4 separate regions of the Homo sapiens genome follow, and all the other regions are linked to region 2. Evidence: promoter capture Hi-C in 16 types of primary human blood cells and fetal thymus (Javierre and others, 2016). All regions are on one chromosome and are shown on one strand. Each heading gives the region's core, a stretch centred on a gene start or on the middle of the fragment in contact. The rest is flanking DNA. Distances are from core to core; before and after follow the strand shown. Region 1 holds the start of KRT73 (keratin 73). Region 2 holds the start of KRT18 (keratin 18). Region 3 holds the start of KRT6A (keratin 6A). Region 4 has its middle 7.1 kb from the start of KRT6B.

Evidence for each region. Contacts are between HindIII fragments. The CHiCAGO score rates a contact against its expected background, and 5 or more counts as called.
Region 1: a contact is called between the fragment with the promoter of KRT73 here and the fragment with the promoter of KRT18 in region 2, in 7 of 17 cell types (M1 macrophages, naive CD4 T cells, M0 macrophages and 4 more). The highest score is 8.9, in M1 macrophages.
Region 3: a contact is called between the fragment with the promoter of KRT6A here and the fragment with the promoter of KRT18 in region 2, in 3 of 17 cell types (erythroblasts, M1 macrophages and M0 macrophages). The highest score is 6.9, in erythroblasts.
Region 4: a fragment that was not itself captured here is called in contact with the fragment with the promoter of KRT18 in region 2 in 2 of 17 cell types (M2 macrophages and M0 macrophages); the score reaches 5.7 in M2 macrophages.

What each region holds. Positions count from the first base shown.
Region 1 is chr12:52,617,205-52,619,904 of GRCh38, forward strand. It overlaps KRT73 (keratin 73), which reads right to left and starts at 1,355. Exons shown (of 9, transcript NM_175068.3): 1 at 874-1,355. The coding sequence starts at 1,320. The HindIII fragment of the contact is 4,368 bases long and covers 52-2,700 here.
Region 2 is chr12:52,947,476-52,950,448 of GRCh38, forward strand. KRT18 (keratin 18) reads left to right here and starts at 1,643. Exons shown (of 7, transcript NM_000224.3): 1 at 1,643-2,115; 2 at 2,853-2,935. The coding sequence starts at 1,699. It also overlaps a transcript of KRT8 not described here. RefSeq lists silencers at 290-584, 1,342-1,461, 1,472-1,551, 1,592-1,641, 2,303-2,326 and 2 more, enhancers at 975-1,349, 1,038-1,631, 1,632-2,225, 2,049-2,973, 2,160-2,814 and 1 more, promoters at 1,231-1,310, 1,231-1,241, 1,319-1,401, 1,611-1,672 and a cis regulatory region at 1,319-1,401. The HindIII fragment of the contact is 10,122 bases long and covers 1-2,973 here.
Region 3 is chr12:52,491,826-52,494,545 of GRCh38, forward strand. KRT6A (keratin 6A) reads right to left here and starts at 1,432. Exons shown (of 9, transcript NM_005554.4): 1 at 824-1,432. The coding sequence starts at 1,363. The HindIII fragment of the contact is 6,361 bases long and covers 1-2,720 here.
Region 4 is chr12:52,443,543-52,446,566 of GRCh38, forward strand. No RefSeq gene overlaps it. Among named protein-coding and RNA genes, the nearest start is that of KRT6B, 7.1 kb to the right of the region's middle. The HindIII fragment of the contact is 234 bases long and covers 1,162-1,395 here.

The DNA.
Region 1 (2,700 bases), core at 105-2,604, 330 kb before region 2:
CTCACCACCCTACCTCACTGTCGCTCCGGGTGAGCTTCCCCTGCTCCTCTAAGCTTAGGAAGTCTCTGCTTCCCAATACCTTCCTACCACTTTGTTCCTCAGTGATTCTCAAACCTGAGTGTACATCAGCATCACCTGGAGAGCTTGTTAAAATGCAGGGTGCTGGGCCCTGCTGCAGAGTCTCTGATTCAGTTGCTCTGGGGTGGAGCCTGAGAGTGTGCATTCTAACAAGCGTCCAGGTGACGTTGCTGCTGCTGGTTCCAGGGCCACCTTTGAGAACCACTGCTCTAGGGCACCGTGACCTCCAGCTGCCTTGCCTCATAGGCTGTGTGTGTTACGGACTGAGTCTGAGCTTTCAGGGGACACAGGAGGAACAGCTGGGTCGCATGGCAGTCTAGATGCCCCAGGCTGTCAAGGGCATCTCCTTCGCCTAGCTTCTAAGTCTCACAGGCTGTCACTCTGCTACTTCTCAACTCAGAGACCGCTCTCATTGCTTCCTGGACACCTTCCTGGGCTAGGCTGCTGGCTCCTCTCACCCCTCCAACCCTGGTCCCTTGCCTCTGATGTCCAGGCTTTGTCCAGTTCCTCCCTGGGCTATGTCTGCATCCTGGGGAGGTGTCCTGCCTTCGTCTGCTTCAGACAGGGAGCACCCCAAGGACAATGAAGGCGGGGGAAGGAAGGGGCTCTACGGCATGAGCAAGCCTTATGGGCCCAGCACCTGGGGAGCTTTCAAGTTGTTTACCTGGTGTCTGATTTTGCTGGGAGAAAATGATTTCTTGCTCTCAGGCAAATTGAACCACAAATTAGGGCAGTGGCTCCCTCCTGAGTCCTTAAAAGGGGAGCCCAAGATCAGCTTTCTCCAGAAAGACCCACCTTGTCAATGAAGGAGGCGAACTTGTTGTTCAGCACCTTGATCTGCTCCCGCTCCTGGGCACGCACTTTCTGGATTTCAGGGTCCAGCTCCACGTTCAGGGGTGCCAGGAGGCTCTTGTTGATGGTGACCTGATGGATACCCCCGGGCGGGCACAACGACGGACACACGGACCCCAAGGCCACACTGCCAAACATGCTGCCAGCAAAGCCACTGGCCCGGCCCCGGCCAAATCCATAGCCTCCTGCCCACCCACTGCCACTGGCCACATTGAAAGAGATGCTCCGGGCACCCCCCAGGCTGTAAAGGCTCCGACTGCTGAAGCCTCCACTGAGCCCTTTGCCCCCTGCTCGGTAGGAGGATGAGCTGCCCCCTGAGAGCACAGCGGAGCAGCCGCTGAAGCCCCCCTTGGCAGCAGCTCCCGACTTGTAGGTGAATTGGCGGCTCATGGTGGGGAGGCCAGAAAGTGGGGATAAGATGCTGACCCTTAGCTGAGATGCAGTTCACCAGCCTGTGATCCTGGGCTCCCACTTTATAGGACTCAAGAGGGAGCCATGGGCCTAATTTGTGGGTTCAGTTTGCCTGGAAGCAAGAAATCATTTTCTCCCAGCAAAATCAGACACCAGGTAAATGACTTGAAAACTCCCAAAGTGCTAGTCTTGCAAGTCTTGCTCATGTAATTTGAGTTTTATCTAATGAACATGTGTAATTAGCATGGGCACATTATCCATAGAAAGATCTTAGGTGGGAGGTTTGTCGCAGTCTCAATTGCTGTTCCCCAGGGAGTGGTGGGGCCTGGGATTGTAGGGGTACAGAGGGGAGACCTTTAATTGACAGTGTCATCTGTTAGAAATCTCACAACCATGCCAGCATCAGATGGGCTGCTTCAGGGACCCTGGCTGAGCTGCTTTTATGTGGTTAAGAAGAGGCTGCTGCTGCCTGGCTTCCCAGAGTTCCTGGAGACAGGTTTGATGGCTGGCCAGGGCCATAGGAGAGGAGCACACTGGGAATCCAGGACCAGCCTCTGGCTGCCAGCCCCCTGCTGTGCCCTCCCAGGCAGCTCTCCTGCTCCTCTGTGCCAGCCGGGCTGCCCTGCTCACCTTCCTTTGCACACACTGACTTCTTTTTCCCTTTACCATCCCACTACCCTGACTCTTGACCTTGAAATTATGGTCATTGCACCATTCACGATGGCTGACACTGGTGCAGCACTTTACAGTGTAACAGAGCTCCTCACACAAGAAGCTCATTTAATCCACTTAGTCTGCATGGAGGGGAATGGTGATGATCCACATTACACAAATGGGGAAACCAAGGTTCAGATAATTGAGGATGTCATTCCTTTAGCAAACATTTAGTGAGTCCTTTCTTTGTGTGAATCCCAGAGAATGAAAATGCCCCCAAAAAGCACAGGCCCCAGCCTTGAGGACTCCCTTGGCTGGTCTTCTGACTCCACATTCAGAGCTATGCCCGCCTTATTCATTCGTCCATCTATCCGTCCAACCAGCCAGCCAGCCATCTACTTGTTCATTCATTTATCCATTCGTTTAACAGACTTCTCTTGAGGGCTGACTCTCTCCCAGGTACTGTGCTAGGCTCTTGGGTCCCGAATTATGAAGACCAAACCTAGCTCACAATTTTGGAGATGGGGAGGTAGGGGAAGACATTTGAATTTCATGGATCCTTGACATTGCCAAAGTATGTGACCCAAGAGTTTCCCAAATCCCAAATCCCAAATATATCCATAGTATAGAATTTCCTCCATAAAAACACAAGTATTTCACTAGCTGGAGTACTTGAATGAACAGTTGGCCCATCCTTCTTTTCTA
Region 2 (2,973 bases), core at 393-2,892:
TATTTATTTATTTATTTATTTTGAGTCAGAGTTTCGCTCTGGTTGCCCAGGCTGGAGCGCGACGGCACGATCTTGGCTCACTGCAACCTCTGCCTCCTGGGTTCAAGCGATTCTCCTGCCTCAGCCTCCTGAGTAGCTGGGATTACAGGCACACACTGTGCCTGGTTAATTTTTGTATTTTTAGTAGAGAAGGGGTGTCACCATGTTGGTCAGGCTGGTCTCAAATTTTTTTTTTTTTTTTTTTTTTTTGAGACAGAGTCTTGCTCTGTTGTCTAGGCTGGAGTGCAGTGGCATCGAACTCTTGACCTCAAGTGATCCACCCGCCTCGGCCTCCCAAAGTGCTTGGATTACAGGCATGAGCCACTGTGCCCGGCGATGTGGGACACATTATCATCTCTGTGAGAGATTTTTGGTCTCTTTTGTCACCGCCCTTCTCTCCCAGCTCCTAGAACTGGGCCTGGCTCACAGTAGGTGCTGAATGCATACTGGTTGAATTGTAAATGCTCAGGATTTGTTTAATTAAGGATGCAGGAAAGGTGATATACCGGTGTGCAGAAGTCAGGATGCATTCCCTGTCCAAATCACAGTGTTCCACTGAGGCAAGGCCCTTGGGAGTGAGGTCGGGAGAGGGGAGGGTGGTGGAGGGGGCTCAGAGACTGGGTTTGTTTTGGGGAGTCTGCACCTATTTGCTGAGTGAATGTATGTGTGTGTGCATTTGAGAGCACACCTCTGTATGATTCGGGTGTGAGTGTGTGTGAGGAAACGTGGGCAGGCGAGGAGTGTTTGGGAGCCAGGTGCAGCTGGGGTGTGAGTGTGTAAGCAAGCAGCTATGAGGCTGGGCATTGCTTCTCCTCCTCTTCTCCAGCTCCCAGCCTTTCTTCCCCGGGACTCCTGGGGCTCCAGGATGCCCCCAAGATCCCCTCCACAAGTGGATAATTTGGGCTGCAGGTTAAGGACAGCTAGAGGGACTCACAGGCCATTCCACCCGCACACCACCAGACCCCCAAATTTCTTTTTTCTTTTTTTTTTTTTTTTTTTTTGAGACAGAGTCTCACTCTGTCGCCAGGCTGCAGTGGCGCGATCTCGGCTCACTGCAACCTCCGCCTCCCAGGTTCAAGCGATTCCCCTTCCTCAGCCTCCCAAGTAGCTGAGACTACAGGCGTGCACCATCACGTCCGGCTAATTTTTTGTATTTTAGTAGAGAGGGGGTTTCACCATGTTGGCTAGGATGGTCTCGATCTCCTGACCTCGTGATCCGCCCACCTAGGCCTCCCAAAGTGCTGAGATTACAGGCGTGAGCCACTGCGCCCGGTCAAGACTCCCAAATTTCAAACTCGCCAGCACCTCCTCCACCTGGGGGAGAAGAGCATAATAACGTCATTTCCTGCCCTGAAAGCAGCCTCGAGGGCCAACAACACCTGCTGTCCGTGTCCATGCCCGGTTGGCCACCCCGTTTCTGGGGGGTGAGCGGGGCTTGGCAGGGCTGCGCGGAGGGCGCGGGGGTGGGGCCCGGGGCGGAGCGGCCCGGGGCGGAGGGCGCGGGCTCCGAGCCGTCCACCTGTGGCTCCGGCTTCCGAAGCGGCTCCGGGGCGGGGGCGGGGCCTCACTCTGCGATATAACTCGGGTCGCGCGGCTCGCGCAGGCCGCCACCGTCGTCCGCAAAGCCTGAGTCCTGTCCTTTCTCTCTCCCCGGACAGCATGAGCTTCACCACTCGCTCCACCTTCTCCACCAACTACCGGTCCCTGGGCTCTGTCCAGGCGCCCAGCTACGGCGCCCGGCCGGTCAGCAGCGCGGCCAGCGTCTATGCAGGCGCTGGGGGCTCTGGTTCCCGGATCTCCGTGTCCCGCTCCACCAGCTTCAGGGGCGGCATGGGGTCCGGGGGCCTGGCCACCGGGATAGCCGGGGGTCTGGCAGGAATGGGAGGCATCCAGAACGAGAAGGAGACCATGCAAAGCCTGAACGACCGCCTGGCCTCTTACCTGGACAGAGTGAGGAGCCTGGAGACCGAGAACCGGAGGCTGGAGAGCAAAATCCGGGAGCACTTGGAGAAGAAGGGACCCCAGGTCAGAGACTGGAGCCATTACTTCAAGATCATCGAGGACCTGAGGGCTCAGGTAAGGGGTAGGAGGGACCTCAACTCCCAGCCTTGTCTGACCCTCCAATTATACACTCCTTTGCCTCTTTCCGTCATTCCATAACCACCCAACCCCTACTCCACCGGGAGGGGGTTGGGCATACCTGGATTTCCATCCGCGCACCTAGCCACAGGGTCCCTAAGAGCAGCAGCTAGGCATGGGAGGGCTCTTTCCCAGGAGAGAGGGGGAAGGGGACAGGGTTGAGAGCTTTACAGAGGAAGTGGACAGCATGGAGGGAGGTAAGGAAAGGCCTGTAAAGAGGAGGAGACACTGGCTCTGGCGGAATGGGGACTATTGGAGGGTTAAGCGGATGTGGCTAAGGCTGAGTCATCTAGGAGTAAACAAGAGGCCTTCCTTTGGGAGGAGCCAATCCAGGGTGTAGGGGGCCCAGAGTGACCAGGTGCACTAGGGAAAAAATGCCAGGAGAGGGCCAGGAAGAGGACTTGTTAGTAGCGACTCACTTCTGGGCAGGCAGGCCAGCCAGCTAGCCAGCCTGCTGAGGCTTCCCAAGAGGGGCAGAGTGCTGGGATCTGGGAATCCAGGAAAGGAGGGAATGGGGTGGGGCTAGATGAAAAGGGATAGGTGTCCAGGGAGAGCCTCTGGCTATTCCTGGGACCAGGAAGTTTTCACTAGGATACATAACACTTTTTACACACTCACCCCACCCATCCCTGGCTTTCTATTCATGGAACAACCTCTCTCTACAATCCCTCCAGATCTTCGCAAATACTGTGGACAATGCCCGCATCGTTCTGCAGATTGACAATGCCCGTCTTGCTGCTGATGACTTTAGAGTCAAGTAAGTTTGGGGGCTAGAGAGCTGGGGGTCCAGGGGTG
Region 3 (2,720 bases), core at 182-2,681, 460 kb before region 2:
CCATGGTGCTGGGCTACTACAGTGCATGTAGAGAGGCTCAGGCTGAGCTCTGCTCCCCCAACCCCTTCTCCTTTGTACCCCACCAATCTCACTAGAGGAATTGTCCCACGGACCATTCAGGTGTTCTCACTCTCTAAGTTATTGGACATATTAATGAGTTTCAACATGTCTTTTCCTTCTTTTCCCAGCCAAAATTACAAACATAGTTATAAAATAGTATTCATCTGATAAATTTTACACAGTTTTTATTACTGATAGGACCTCAGTTAGAAGAGATGTTAAATGTTGCCCAATGATTTGATTCCCGTCTTATTTCCCATTTGTGCAAGTCTCTCCTCTAAAACATCCTGATGTTATGGTCATTCTTTGTTTTGAGGATTAATTAACATTTCCACATAACGTATAAACGTTTTAAGTCTTTTTTTTCTTAATCTAGCCAAAATATCCTTTCTTTTGTTTCCAATATTTTTTCCTCTTATCCAGACCCCAGAGTGTAATTTACCAGCCCGTGTACTCCTGGCATTTTCTTTGACGCTTCAAAGGGAAGAGTTAACCTACTCCATTCTCTGATGGCCTCATCTGTGCTTCAGGGTTATGAAAAGTTATGGTTCTCCCTAGGCAGGAGTGAGGGCCACTCCAGAGATCCCATGGGGGAGTGATGCCCATCCCTGCTGCTTGCTGGGCACCAGCAGCCATCTGCACTCTCTGCAGAGCTGGGCTGAGTCCTCTTCTCCCTCCCTCCTAGGTCTCCCTGGCAGGAAGGTGTTGCTCCTCTGGTCTGGGGACCCTGAAGTGCCCCATGGAGGGCATGGCACTGGCTCACCTTGTCGATGAAGGAGGCAAACTTGTTGTTGAGGGTCTTGATCTGTTCACGCTCCTCAGCCCGCACCCGCTGGATGGTGGGATCGATTTGCAGGTTGAGGGGAGTCAGGAGACTCTGGTTGACGGTGACCTCTTGGATGCCTCCAGGGGGGCACACAGGGAAGCCAGGGCCCCCAAAGCCACCAGCAAGGCCGGCTCCACCACCCAGACCAAAGCCAATGCCGGCTCCACCACCGAAACCAAATCCACTCCCGGCGCCACCAAAGCCATAGCTGCCTCCGGCTCTGCTGCCATAGCCGCCACTGATGGCACAGCTGCCCCCTCCAATGGAGATCCTCTTGGAGCCCCCCAGGCCATACAGACTGCGGCTGCCAAAGCCAGCTCCTCCACATGCACCACCCAGGCCACCACTGCCCCTGGAGCGGGACACGGAGACGCTGCTGAAGCCAGAGCGGCTGACCCCAGGGAGCCTGGCTGAGTTGGCACTGAAACCCCGGCGGCTGCTGCTGTGGCTCCTGATGGTGGTGGATGTGCTGGCCATGGTTCCAGGAGATGAGAGAGCTGAGGAGAGTGTGAGAGGCTGGAGGAGAGAGGGAAGAGAAGCAGGACTAGGAATCAGGCTCGGGGCAGCAGCTTATATATGGAGAGCATGGGCTGGGCCCAGTCCTGGAAGGTGAGCTTGCAGGTTGGGAAGGGCTGGGCTTTACCAACAGTGAGATCACACCCAGTTTCTAGAAAGGTATGAAATATGAAGATTGCTTTTTGGCTTCCTTTAGTCATAGAGAAATTCTCCTGCCTTCCAGCCTTGACTTGATCCTAACACAATAAGCCCGGGTATACATTCACTGAAGTCATGAGTTAGTCATGTCCTCAAACAAAGGAGACAAGGAGCTGATCTGTGATAATTGTCCCCTCCTTCTTCTTCATCAGACACTCCCTGTGTGCCCCCTTCCCACACAGGTTTTCTACTCCACTTGCACCAGCCTCACCCTCTGAGTGGGATCCTTCCTGAGGGCGTATGGGCATTTGCCCGATGGCCTGAGCAAGAAGTAGCCTGTTGTGTTTTTTCCACTGCATTTGGACCAGTTCTTCTGGAGCTCCTGGCTGTCCTCCCTTGTGTCCTGGACATAGGAACGGGGTCTGCTTTGGGGATCTAACCCTCCTTTGTCAGGCAAGAGGGACAGAGGAGTTGAGTCTTTACACTGTAGGAGCAACATTTGTTCTGTGTACTGTGTGATCACCTGCCCACATGCCGTTTACCTAAAATGAAGGGAGCAGACATTGCCCAGGGTGCTCAGAGACCTGACTTCTGCCAGGAGTTTCTTTCCATATCTGCACCTCTCTCTCCAGTGCTTGCTTTCCTATTGAGCTTAGTCTCATGTAAATCTGCCTTTCCAGTTGAAATTTATAGACACCTTCTCCCTGCTGTTTTGGAGCATTTACATAGAGCTTAATTTAAACAACGGAAAATGAGTGATATAAAAATCATTAAGGAATTCACTGGATTTTTATTCCCACAGATTTTGACATTTCTTAAGAATCAAGAGTCAGACAGTTTAATTGGGTGTGTAGGGAAAGTCAAGGGGCATATGGAAGCTGTGAATCATAAAATTGTGCCCTTACAAGTGTGATGATGTAACATGTCAATTCCACATTTTAATTTCTGATCTCAGTGCTTGAAATCTCAAATCCATATACACCTTCTGGGAGGGTGGGCAGGCTGACAAAGGTGAGTGTGCTTGGTTTACAGAGGAATGAGCTTCACTTCTCCAGTCCATGCATTAAGCACTGTGCATGAGGAGAATGGAGAGCAATCCTGGGCAATATTGTTCTGTGAGAACCTATGGATAAATGAGCAACCGCAGGAGGAAGAACAAACTCCCATGCTAAGAAGAGCC
Region 4 (3,024 bases), core at 29-2,528, 500 kb before region 2:
CCAACCACAGTCCAAAATCTCTCTGCAGGTTCAGACATCATTGCACATCCTTGAGCATCGAGGATGTTCATGGAAAAGACCTCACCAAATGGACAAAATAAGGCACCAGAGACTGACCCTAAAGTAATAGAGAAAGCAGCATGTAATATAAAGATCTAGTAATCACAGTGGTGTGATCAGACAAAGAGATCAATGACACAGAAGATAAAGTGTATGAATTCAGCATGTAATAAAAATGGCATTTCAATGGTGGAAAAAGTAGGATGTTGATCTTTATGTAGCAGAAAAGTATGAAAATGAAAATAGCAATTACCCAAATTCATACTCCTCAGAATTAATCACTATTAGTATTTTGTCCTGGCAAGATGGCGAACCAGCTGGGGCTGTTATCTTCCTCCCACAGGATGAATCCTGAGAAACTGTAGAAACACATGAAAGGCACGGATACTAGGACGTATGAATTTTTGTTGTTTATCTGTAGTTCAACTTTAACTGAGGTTTCAGTGCAGTGGTTCATGCCTATAATTCCAGCACTTTGGGAGGTTGAGGTGGAAGGATCACTTGAGCCCAGGAGTTTGAAACCAGCCTGGACAAATAGTGAGACCCTAACTCTACAAAAATTACAAAAAAGAAGAAATTATCTAGGCATGGTGGTGCATGCCTGTGGTCACAGGTACTCAAGAGGCTGAGGCAAGAGGATCACTTCAGCCTGCGAAGTCCAGTCAGCAGGGAGCCATGATTGCACTACTCTACTCTAGCTTGGGTGACAGAATGAGACTATGTCTAAAAAAAAAACACAACAAATTTAACTGGGCTTCCTCTATTTTGTCTGGACAACCCTATTCACAGGAGACTGGGATGCCTGCTCCAAGTCTCAAGCCAGCTGGCATCTAGCTGGCCTCTCAGAGAGGGTAAGCATCTGGATTTCACTTGAGGGTAGTGAGGGACCCTGCCAGTAGCCTGCTGTCCTCGAGCTTTTTACCTGAGGGGGGAGAATGACTTTGCCTGGCACACTGGGAAGTTGTCCTAACAGCTTTTGGGACTTGAACAACGTGGCAGTTCCTACGCTCTGCTTCCACCATGCCTTTGACTTCAAACTCTAGACTGCAATGATAGAAAGGGAGGGGGTCACTAATTCCCCAAAGTCTCCTCCCGCTCCAAAGCTTCTGCTAATGACCTACTCAGTGGCAAGACGTTTGCTCACCCACAGACAACCATGGGAAGAAGGCCAGACCTCAACTACAGTAGTGACGCATGGGAAAGAGTCTCTGCTGTGGCATCAAATGGGCAAAATATGACCATAACTGAAAGAGTTATTGTTGTTCTTCAGGAATTTTCTTTCACTTTGTATTCTTCTGCTCACGGATAAGACCTGATTAGCCAGTTTCTAGAATAAGCTTGTGTAAACATGGCCTAAAAGATAGAGAGTCTGTTTCCGTCTAAAAGTGAAAATTACAACCCTGATGTTGATATCTGGTCAATTTGAATGAACGTCCAACCATCAATTTTTGCTTGTCAAAATTATCATGAAAGTTTACAGTTAAAATGTGCATGGTTTTTTGTTTTGTTTTGTTTTGTTTTTGCATCCTATCATCAAATGAGGAACTCCCTTAACCTTCATCATCCAGGCTGGAGTGCAGTGTTGCAATCATAACTCACTGCCACTTCAGACACCTTGGCTCAAGTGATCCTCCTGCTTCGGCTTCCTAAGTAGCTAAAACTACAGGTGTGCACCACCATGCCCAACTAATTTTTTAGTTTTTTTGTACAGACAGGGTCTGGCTATGTTGCCCAGGCTGGTGTCACACTCCTAAGCTCAAGTGATTCCTGCCTTGGCCTCCCAAAGTGTTGGGATTACAGTCATGAGCCGCTGTGCTCAGTCCCCATGTTGATCTGAGTGTCGTCTGTCAGCGTGGACCATGTTGTCTCATGGACCATGTCATCTTTGCCAGCAGCACCTCAAAACAAACTCTCTAATTTTATAAAGAAATTTTATGAATTTATTTTATCTTTTTTTACAACTTCACTTTTTCTAAGGGTTGTTGAGGTATAATGTACAGACAGTCAAAGTCACTGTTTTTAGGTGTACAGTCATAAACATTCTAACCAGCCTTTCCCAAGATAAGTTCTTTTTTTCTTTTTTTTTTTAGATGGAGTTCTTGCTCTGTTGCCCAGGCTGGAGTGCAGTGGCATTATCTTGGCTCACTGCAACCTCCACCTCCCAGACTCAAGTGATTCTTGTGCCTCAGCCTCCTGAGTAGCTGGAATTACAGGTGCATAACACCATGCCCAGCTAATTTTTGTATTTTTAGTAAAGACGGGGTTTCTTCTTGTTGACCAGGCTGGTCTCAAACACCTGGCCTTAAGTGATCCACCTGCCTCGACCTCCCAAAGTGCTGGGATTAACAGGTGTGAGCCACCAAGTCCGGCCCCAGGATAAGTTCTTAAGTTCAGCCCATGTATCTTTGAGTTGTGTCAAAACCATTCCAAAACATATGGCACTGCATGGCTTTAAATCCATACACTGAGATTTGAGGATGCTCCTTTACTGTATCTATTAGTTTGAATGATGGATTTTAGAAGTTTATATCAGAGCAAGCATTGGTGGCAAAAGTCTTAATAATCATAGAGTCAGGGCAAGCACCTGCTTCTTACCAAGTGTTTCTGATCTGCAGGGTCAGTGCAATATTTCCCTGGTGGTGGGGAGCCGGGGAGAGAGGGAGTCTCAGAGATCAGTGTGGGGTCAAGCCACCAAATGATGGGGCTGAAAAATAAAAAATATAAATGAATCTTAGTTATCAGATTATGCTGATCCAGATTCCAGGAATTAGCTTCCCTTTTTGTTCTGATGCTTTATAAAAGACTCCATTTGTGGAAAAATTCCCAAGTGGTGAGGGCTGAGTAGTTGGTGATTGTCCACCGGAGTGTCCGACAGAATCACATAATGTTGACTGATGGAGTAGGCTGTGGAGGGGGAGCTCCCGACTCATCCTCCATGATGACTGGTCAGTGGGGAGAGCAGCA